Regions from separate parts of the Homo sapiens genome. Here all the other regions are linked to region 3. The links are contacts of gene promoters, found by promoter capture Hi-C in human tissues and cell types (Jung and others, 2019). All regions are on one chromosome and are shown on one strand. Each heading gives the region's core, a stretch centred on a gene start or on the middle of the fragment in contact. The rest is flanking DNA. Distances are from core to core; before and after follow the strand shown.

Region 1 (3,064 bases), core at 346-2,845, 120 kb after region 3:
CTAGACTGGGTTCCTAGGGTTCCACACAACCTCAATCTTAACTCAATGTCAGTCACATTCTACAAACTTGACACAATTCTCTTCTCATTTGGTGAAGACCAACTTAAGAAAATGTTTCATCTTCTATCCTCTTGAAAAAAAATGAAATATTTAAAAATTATTTATTGAGAGGTCACATTAAATTACTATGAATAGAATTAGGTTTTAATGTGTTAAGTTTTCTTACTTTTAAAAGGATATCTGCAAGGGCAGCAATGAAGCATGAAAAAATGACATAAAGAAAAAAAAAGCAGCCTGGAATTCAAGGACCTGGATTCCATTCCCAGTTGTGGCACCAAGTAGTTGTGTGTCCTTGAGCAACATATGTATTTCTGAGTCTCCAACACATGTTAATTGAAGAGACTAGATTAAATAATGTGTAAGGCCAATTCACGATTAAATGGTCTATGATTATAGAAAAATTTGCATAAAATGAAGAAATCCTGGAATAACTAGGTGAAGCAGAGACAGGGAGAATATGTCTGCACTTAACACTCATCCAAATGTAAAGATTTAAAATTCTTTTTCTGTACAAGACAGGAAAAAAATGGAACTTGAATCTCACTGAAAACACACACTAATAAGCAAAGCATTGTATCTCCTTCCTCCAATACTAATCCTTTCTTAAGAAAAGATTTTTCTGCCCAAAGTTCTCCTCAGGGCAACTTTGACATCCTTGTTCCTCAAGCTATAGATTAATGGGTTTAACACGGGGACTATTATGGTATAGAACAGGGAGGACACTTTCCCTTGCTCGAGGGGCAGGATGGAAAGGGGTTTGAGATACATGAAAGCACCAGAACCAAAGAAAAGAGAAACTACAATTATGTGGGAACTGCAAGTACTAAAGGCTTTGGACCTGCCTTCTGTAGAACTGTTGTGTAGAATGCTGGAGAGGATGAGGGCATAAGAAATAAAGACAGTGACAATGGGCATTCCAACGTCAACAGCCACCACAATAAAGACCACCAGCTCATTCATGTAAGAGCTGTTGCAGGAGAGCTCAAGGAGAGGAAGGATGTCACACATGAAATGATTGACAAGGTTGTCAGCACAGAAGGTCAGGTTCATTATGCTTCCTGTGTGGGCCATGGCCCCAGCAAACCCCATCCCATAGGCACCCAACAAAAGGAGCAAACACACCTGGCAAGACATGGTGACTGTGTACAACAGTGGGTTACAGATGGCCACGTAGCGGTCATACGCCATCGCTGACAGGATGAAGGACTCAGAGACGACAAAGAAGCAGAAGAAGAAGAGCTGAGTCATACACCCTGTGAAGGAAATGATGTTCTTCCTTGAGACAAAACTCATCAGCATTTTGGGAGTGATGGTAGTGGAGAAACAGAAATCTATTAAAGAGAGGTTAAAAAGGAAGAAGTACATGGGAGTGTGCAGGTGAGAGTTCAGCCCAATCAGGGTTATCAAGCCCAGGTTCCCCACCACGGTGACCGTGTAGAAACCCAGAAACAGGAAGAAGAGGGGGATCCGCAGTCCCGGCTGGTGGGTTAAGCCTTCGAGGATAAACTCTGTCACAGAAGAGTTTTTGGCTGCCATTCTTTTTGGTCAGGCAGGAGAGTCGGAGGGGACAAGAGAAGAGGACCACTTAGAAAGAAACATCACCACCACATTCTTAGTCTCTATCTCCCATTCTTAGAAAAGGAATCCAAGGAGAGAGATTTGAACTTTGGTAGGAAGGTTTTTACCACTCACTGTGGGTCTATCTTCACAGTCCGAGTGATTATAACTCCCAAAGTGTAATATGAGACTCAACTGTAACTGCAGAATGAGAGCTGGATCTGCTGAAGAAAGGGGTACCAAAAATAATCCAAATGTCTTTTAGATCCTTAGGTCAGTCCCTTTTCTATATCTTTCCCTCTCCTGTCTCTGCTTCACTTGGTAAAACCTGGACCTCTTCCCTGAAGGGAATCCTGAGATGCAGAAGCCACAGTGGCTCTGCTCAGAGCTTCCACCTCTGGGTCCACACTGTCAGATTAAGTAGGTGAGCTCATGCTTTTCCAAGATCTCTTAGCTCAAGTGGCTGTACATTTAATAATTTTTTAAAGCTGACACTTATTGAGTGGTTACTATAAGAGGTTCTGTTTGAAGAGCCATGTAGCAATATTATTATCTTCATTTTACAGATGAAACAAGTAAGATGACATAACTAGACAAAAGTCCCCAAACCACCTGCAGCCAGAAGGTGAATTTCGGCAGTATGGCTCAAATGGCTTGCACTTGAAATCACCATGTTACATAAGTGACCAGCATCGGGGCAGGCACTCACCTTCCTTCCCTTTAGAGCCATAAATGCTATACTCTACTGCCTCTTTTTCACATTCTGGGGAGGAAGATGACCCTAGTGAAGACAAGATGACAGATCTGAGCTCAAAGCCCTCTCTTCCCAGTACAGGTCAAAGGATCAGAACCTCTAATGTATCTCATAACACTTCCTGCACTGAAGGACATGACTTCCAATTGTTCATTTGCCCAAAGGCCTCTCCAGCTTCCAGGAAGGAGACAAAGCTTTTTCCTGACCAGTGAATAACAAAAGACTAAAGAGTTTTATTCTGGATTACAGACCTCAATGATCTGGCCATTAAGATAGAGACTCCCTCAAGACCACTTGCTTAGCAATTAGTTTCCCTAGAGAAGAAGAAATGTTTGTTTATCTCTTGGAATTGCTTGATTTGGCTTTCTACTAACATGTATCCTGTACTATTAAGAGAAAATCATTGTGAAAAAAATGATTGTCATTACCATTTCTTGAATACCCAATAATTTAGTACCTGACATAGTACCCTTATTCCAGCTGCCAAGATCCAGAGTACACATATACAAACATATCTTTATTTATTTCTCACAATACCTATTTTACAGGTAAGTTGCTCACAGAGACAAGATGTTTCAGAGTCCACAGGTATGCTTAGGTCTGTCTGACTCCAAGCCCCTTATGTAGCTGCTAGACTAAACTACCTCCCAAGGACAGCTACTGAAATCCATAAAGCAGAGCCCTTGCCTTCTT
Region 2 (3,145 bases), core at 187-2,686, 86 kb after region 3:
TTTGATCTCTTTACATAATCTCATATTTCTCAGAGTTTTAGTCATTTTTTTTCATTCTTTTTGCTCTGTTCTTGTCTAACCATCTTATTTCAGAAAGCTGGGCTTCAAGCTCTGAGATTTTTTCCTCCACTTGGTCTATTCTGCTATTAATACTTATGATTGATTGCATTATGAAATTCTTGTAGTGTGTTTTTCAGCTCTATCAGGTCAGTTATGTGCTTTTCTATACTGGTTATTTTGTCTGTCAGCTCCTGCATTGTTTTGTCATGATTTTTAGCTTCCTTGGATTGGGTTTCAATGTACTCCTGTAGCACAATGACCTTCATTCCTATCCATATTCTGAATTCTATTTCTGTCATTTCAAGCATCTCAGCCCAGTTCAGACCGCTTGCCGGATAGGTGATGTGGTTGCTTGGAGGAAAGAAGGCATTCTGGCTTTTTGAGTTGTCAGGGTTCTTGCACTGATTCATTTTCATCTTTGTGGGCTTATCTACCTTCAGTCTTTGATGTTGCTGACTTTGGATGGATTTTTTTTTCCTTTTATCGTATTTGATGACCTTGAGGGTTTGATTGTGGTATAAGGTGGATTCAGCTGACTGGTTTTGTATCTGAAAGATTTTAGGGGGCCAACATGCAGCTCCCAACTCCTGGACTGTGTGCTCTAACTCTGGGGGACTTGTATTGTGCCCCAACTTTGTTTTCTGGCTCCTTATGGTTAGTAATCCACTGCACTGGTGGGGGATGAGGTGTTACTGGACTGCTGGTCACTACACTCTGATGGGTGGTGTCAGCCAAAGCATTTCATAGTGCAGTGACAGTGTGATCTGTCCTTGTTCACACATGCCAGCAGCAGAGGTAACGGCAGGTGCAGCAGGGTGCTAGTGGGTGCCGGGATGCCTGCCTCCCTGCAGGTGTTTACCACAGTGGCAGAGGCAACATAGCTGGGGGACGTGGGGGGCGGGCCTTGCTGGCAACTGTGTGCACTGTCACACTGGAAGTGGTGTTGGTTCAGGGGTGGGGCACTTGTAGGCACAAGTCTGGGTGCTTCCTCTGTGCCCCACAAGCAGGAGTGATCACTTAGGGCAAGGGAGGATCCACTGTTAGCACAATGGTGGGGCACTGGCGGGAATAGAGCTGGCTGGGTCTTTGCTTCCAAGGCTCTGTCTGCAATGGCAGTCAGGGGACGGCAGGGCAGACTGCATTCCTGCACACCGGCAAGGCAAGGAAAGCAAAACCTGCCCACGCAGGCACTCACCAGCAAAGCAAGGTTGGGGGTTGCCATGGGCCTGAAGGAAGCTACCATATGAGGAGAGAGGGAGCATGTGGGCTGGTGTGTGGCCATAGAGGCTGCCCTTTGGGAGCTCTCTACCAGTCAGGCACAATCTGCCAGTGCAGAAGCTATGATGCAGCCCCCATGGCACCTGAGACTGCCTTGCAGGCAGGCACAGCCAGGCTGAGGACCCAGGAGAGGCCAGCAGCCCAAGGGTTGCTCAGGTCAAACCAGCCCTGTCTGATGGGCAAGACTGCCCTGCAGAGTTGAGGTCTGACTGTCCTTCTTGGGCTAAAGTCTCCTATGGGAGTAAGTTGAGCCTAGGGGAATGGCTGTCCCTGCCCATGCTCTGCTACGGATACTTCCACACCAAACCCTCTGGGCTCATAATCAGGCTTGCTGCCCAAACCACTTCTTTAAGCAGCCCTCCTTGCCAACTAGAATGTCCGTGGTGGCCGAAGGGTCTCCTCCTACTGGGGTTCCAGAGCCCCGTGGTGAGAGCAGGTTGTTCCTTGCCAGTTCAACTCACTCATTCCCCTAGAGCTGTTGGGGGCCAGGAATGAGTCCTCGTGCATGGCAGCTCCATGCACATTCCCAGCTTTCTTCCCCTTCACCCCAGCTTCTGTGTCTTCCCTCCATCCACCCTCAGTGCCTTCCCTCTGAAGATCTGTTAGGAGCACGCCAGTCATTTCAGTCCCTCAGTAAAAGGTGCTCCACCTGGCTGCGTCTAGTCAGCCGTCTTGCCCTCCTCTTGTTTCCATTCATGTTTTTAAAATATTCATTAAATCAAGGAATGATGGATACCTCTTTAAGATGGCAAAATATATAAATTTCAGCCCAAAGCCAGCAACTTACTTTGGAAACACTAGCATCAAAACCAGGATGCTTACAGCCTTCACTGTAAGCAATTATTTAACACTGTATTAAAGTTATTAGAAAATGCAGGTGTAAATGGGAAAGAAATAAGAGGCATAAGTGTCAGGAGGAAAAAATTACAGCTATCTCTATACAGATAAAATTTATTATGTATTTGGAAAGCCTGAGAGAATCTATAGAAAAATCTCTACAAATAATAACAGTTACATTACAAAGTAGATAATTAACAGAGTAATACATCGAATGCATATGTATAAGTAATAATAATATCTAATGAAAGATAAGACAAAATAAAACAAAATTCCCAAGCACAATTATAATAAGAAATATGCAAAACATAGATAAGGAATTATGAAACACTCTTAAAAGATACTAAAGTAGACCCCCAAGACATGGAAAGGCATATCACAGTTTATGATTGGAAGCCTCAAGATCCAAAGATTTTGATTCTCCTTAAATTTACTTCTAAATTTAAGATGCAATCTTAAATGCATCTGTGCAGCAAATATGCCATCAGGTTTTTTTCTGGAGCTAGACAGATTAATTATAAAGATTATGGTTAAACATGAATAGTCAGCAAAACCCTAAAAAAGAGGAACAATATGTGGGAGGTTACCCTCAAGATATGAAAACATAATGAAGCTTCTACAGTTAAAGTAGTGTGATATTGGCTTATGGGTAGACAGATACATAGACCAATGGAACAGAATGGAAAAACACAGAAATAGCCCAGCTGCCTTTGAAATTCAGTATGAGATAAAGGCAGGAGCTCAAAAGTAGAAAAAAGAGGGACTATTTAATAAATGACAATAAAATAACTGGGTAACCATAAGAAAAAAGACAAAGTTGGATCTATTCCTCACATGATACACTGGTATAATTTCTAAATAGATGAGACATCCCAATGTAAAAGAATGAAGCCATAAAAATATTATTAAAAAATGAATTTTCTTCATCACCTAAGAAGCGACAAAACTCTTAACTTTGATTAAAATACCT
Region 3 (3,006 bases), core at 405-2,904:
ATGCAAATCCGTGGAGTTCTTCCTTGTTTCTTCTTCCAGCCTGAGTCTCCGGAGCCTAAGAAATTGGCCCAATTACACAGGATCACTTACCCCTGATTACCATTCCAAGGCCCAGAAGCTTTAGAACTTTGAAATAAAAGATTTGGATTTGATTTATCCTTACAGAGCAGATCATAGAAAATTCTTGTGTGAGGGCTTCTTTTATGTACATACATGTATATGAAAAGGAGGGTTTATGATCTTCCTGACCAAGCAACCTCCTGAAGAGCTGGATATATAATCATATTAGCACTGGCACCAAGGTATCTACCATTGATCTTTAATAAGTCTGCTTATGTAACTAAAGAGAAAACACTCCTCAACCTTTATACCACCACCTGCCCCTTGTTCCAGCCAGAAACGTTCTTGCTCAGAAAAACCCATTTAGCCTACCAAGAAAAGAATGGAAGGCATGGAGCCTCATCTTACTCATCTCTTGGGCCTAATACAGAGTTCAGTAAACAAAAGGCATTTCATAGACACTAACTTGCAGGCAGTGAGCCAATTTAATTGTTGCAAAATAATATAGTCCTCAAGGAGAGTATAGGAAAGAGATTTCCAATTTTTAAAAGTGGAGAGGAGACCCTCTTTGAGGAAAAATATTAAAATTCCTCCGCCTATAAATAGAAAGACACTTGAGTATCATGCTTACCGAGAATCGGTTGCCAGTGATATGAAGAGACCCATTAGAAGAGCACTCTCTTCAGGGTTTTGCCCAGGGCAAGTTTATCATCCTTATTCCTCAAACTGTAGATCGAAGGGTTAAGCATGGGAACCACATTGGTGTAAAAGACTGAGGCAAATCTGCCATGGTTCATAGAGCCAGGAAAAGATGTTGTTAAGTAGGTGAATGTCCCTGACCCAAAAAACAGAGCAACAGCAATTATGTGGGAGCCCCATGTGCTAAAGGCTTTGGATCTGCCCTCTGCAGAAGGAATACAGAGGATGTTGGAGAGTATCAAAGCGTAAGAGATGACGATGCTTATGCTGGATAGCATGGTGATTACTCCAACAACAATGAAAAATACCAGCTCACTGACATGGGTGCTGGTGCAGGAGAGCTGCAAGAGGGGGAGAACGTCACACAGATAATGGTCAATGACGTTGGAATCACAGAAGGTCAGTCGCAGCATGCTTCCAGTGTGGGCCATGGCCCCAGCAAACCCTACCACATAGGAACCAAACATCAGCAGAAAGCAGACCCTTGGGGACATGGTGACCATGTAGAGCAGGGGGTTGCAGATGGCCACATAGCGATCATAGGCCATTGATACCAACACATAGCACTCAGAATTGACAAAGAAACAGAAGAAAAATAGCTGAGTCATACATCCCACATAAGAGATGATACTTTCTGAAACAAAGTCATTCAGCATTTTGGGGGTAAACACACAGGAATAACAGAGATCTATAAAGGACAAGTTGAAGAGGAAAAAGTACATGGGGGTGTGAAGGCTAGGATTTATCCCAATTAAGGTGATCAAGCCCAAGTTGCCCACCACAGTGAACACATAGATCCCTAAGAATAGAAGGAAAAGAGGGAGCTGGAGCTCTGGCTGTTCTGATAATCCCACAAGGATAAACTCAGTCACTGAGGAGCTGTTTCTCAGAGTCATTCTCTCTTGGCGAGCTGTCTGGGGAAGCAGAGGGCAAAACACAAAGAGTCATGACAGGCACAAGCATGGCTAAGGGAAGAAGACTCTAGTGGACCAGCCAGTGTGCAGATGCCCTCTCTTCCATCCTCCCTCATCTACACACCTCCCCACCCTGAGGTATTAACAACGTGTCTGTGAGAGGATCTCAGCTCTGCTGGGCCGATCATGAATTCAAGCTAGCATCTGTTACCATGGGCAGCAAGAATTCCGTCTCTGCTTGAGAGATGACGAGGGAGACAACACACCTGAATTGGCTGCCCAGGGACTCTCAGAAAGACACCCTGAGAACCAAGAGTACAACCTGGGCCGCTGCCTCAAGAGCTGAGAGACCAGAGCTCTCAAGGTCACCAGGATGCCCTCCCATTCTCTGCCTCCGTCTCCCAACTAGATAGTGGATTTCCATCTGGAGAGAAAGCCAAGAGTGTTACCTGCTGGCTCTTTACATCCCACCCGCCTCCTCGAAGACCCTCCATTCCATCTCACCTCAGGGTCAGTGTTGAGAGCAGAGACGGGATCCATACTTCCCAGAGCCCTTGGTTGTGGGTTTCAAAGAGACCATCAGGAAAGACAGGATTCGGACCTTCACCTTCCTTCTCCCGGGCCCCACTCAGTGCTGGGCCTTACGCCATCTCTTTTTCCATTAGCCAGAAAGAGAAAATGGTGCTGCTTGTGCAGAAAGCACACAGCCTTGCGTATTACCTCTTTTGACTCCCTTGGTGCTGAGAATCAGAGCTTTTACAGACCCCAGGCTCCAAGGTGCTCAAGGAATAGACCATGGTTTCTGTTTGTGGATTTTCCCAGGTGGTCTTGACAACTTCAGGAAAAAAAACTAGGAACTCTCATTTTGACCAGAACCCCAGCTGTCATATCACAGAGGAATTTAAGCTGCTTGACGATCTCAGGGACCTGATTAGACACAGTTTCCCCTGGGAATTTCTCCAAGATCTGTCTCTATAGGGAAGGAATTGCACTGTCTTTGTTTACAGCCTGGATAACGGTGCTTACCTAGCATCTTGGGAGTGGGGGTTCCACTCAAACTTTCCCTCTACTCCAGGGATTTCATGTTATTCAGTGCTGAGTTTGGGGACTCATTTTTTCCTTTCTCATTAACTCTCAGAGCCTAAGCTTGAATTTAAGAGTGAATAGCCCCAACCTAAGCCACCATCTCCAAATCTTCACAGGGAGCTATGAGAGTAGGACCCCTCAGAAAAGGTCAGATCAGATCTACAGAGAGCACCTCAGATAAAAGGCTTCTTGGACCATGCGCTGCTCAGAACAGAAACCACACCACCTCCACCACAAACACCACCTA

The links. The method cuts DNA at HindIII sites, captures the fragments that hold promoters and counts their contacts. A contact is called where the count stands out against the background at its distance.
Region 1: the fragment with the promoter of OR8B12 here is called in contact with the fragment with the promoter of OR8B4 in region 3 in 3 of the 25 tissues and cell types used here (heart left ventricle, neural progenitor cells and ovary).
Region 2: a fragment that was not itself captured here is called in contact with the fragment with the promoter of OR8B4 in region 3 in 2 of the 25 tissues and cell types used here (dorsolateral prefrontal cortex and mesendoderm cells).

Annotation. Positions count from the first base shown.
Region 1 is chr11:124,542,059-124,545,122 of GRCh38, forward strand. It overlaps OR8B12 (olfactory receptor family 8 subfamily B member 12), which reads right to left and starts at 1,596. Exons shown (of 1, transcript NM_001005195.1): 1 at 664-1,596. The coding sequence starts at 1,596. The coding sequence ends at 664. The HindIII fragment of the contact is 12,708 bases long and covers 1-3,064 here.
Region 2 is chr11:124,509,222-124,512,366 of GRCh38, forward strand. No RefSeq gene overlaps it. Among named protein-coding and RNA genes, the nearest start is that of OR8B12, 33 kb to the right of the region's middle. RefSeq lists enhancers at 720-1,354, 1,355-1,988. The HindIII fragment of the contact is 4,409 bases long and covers 1-3,145 here.
Region 3 is chr11:124,423,217-124,426,222 of GRCh38, forward strand. It overlaps OR8B4 (olfactory receptor family 8 subfamily B member 4), which reads right to left and starts at 1,655. Exons shown (of 1, transcript NM_001005196.1): 1 at 726-1,655. The coding sequence starts at 1,655. The coding sequence ends at 726. The HindIII fragment of the contact is 10,487 bases long and covers 1-3,006 here.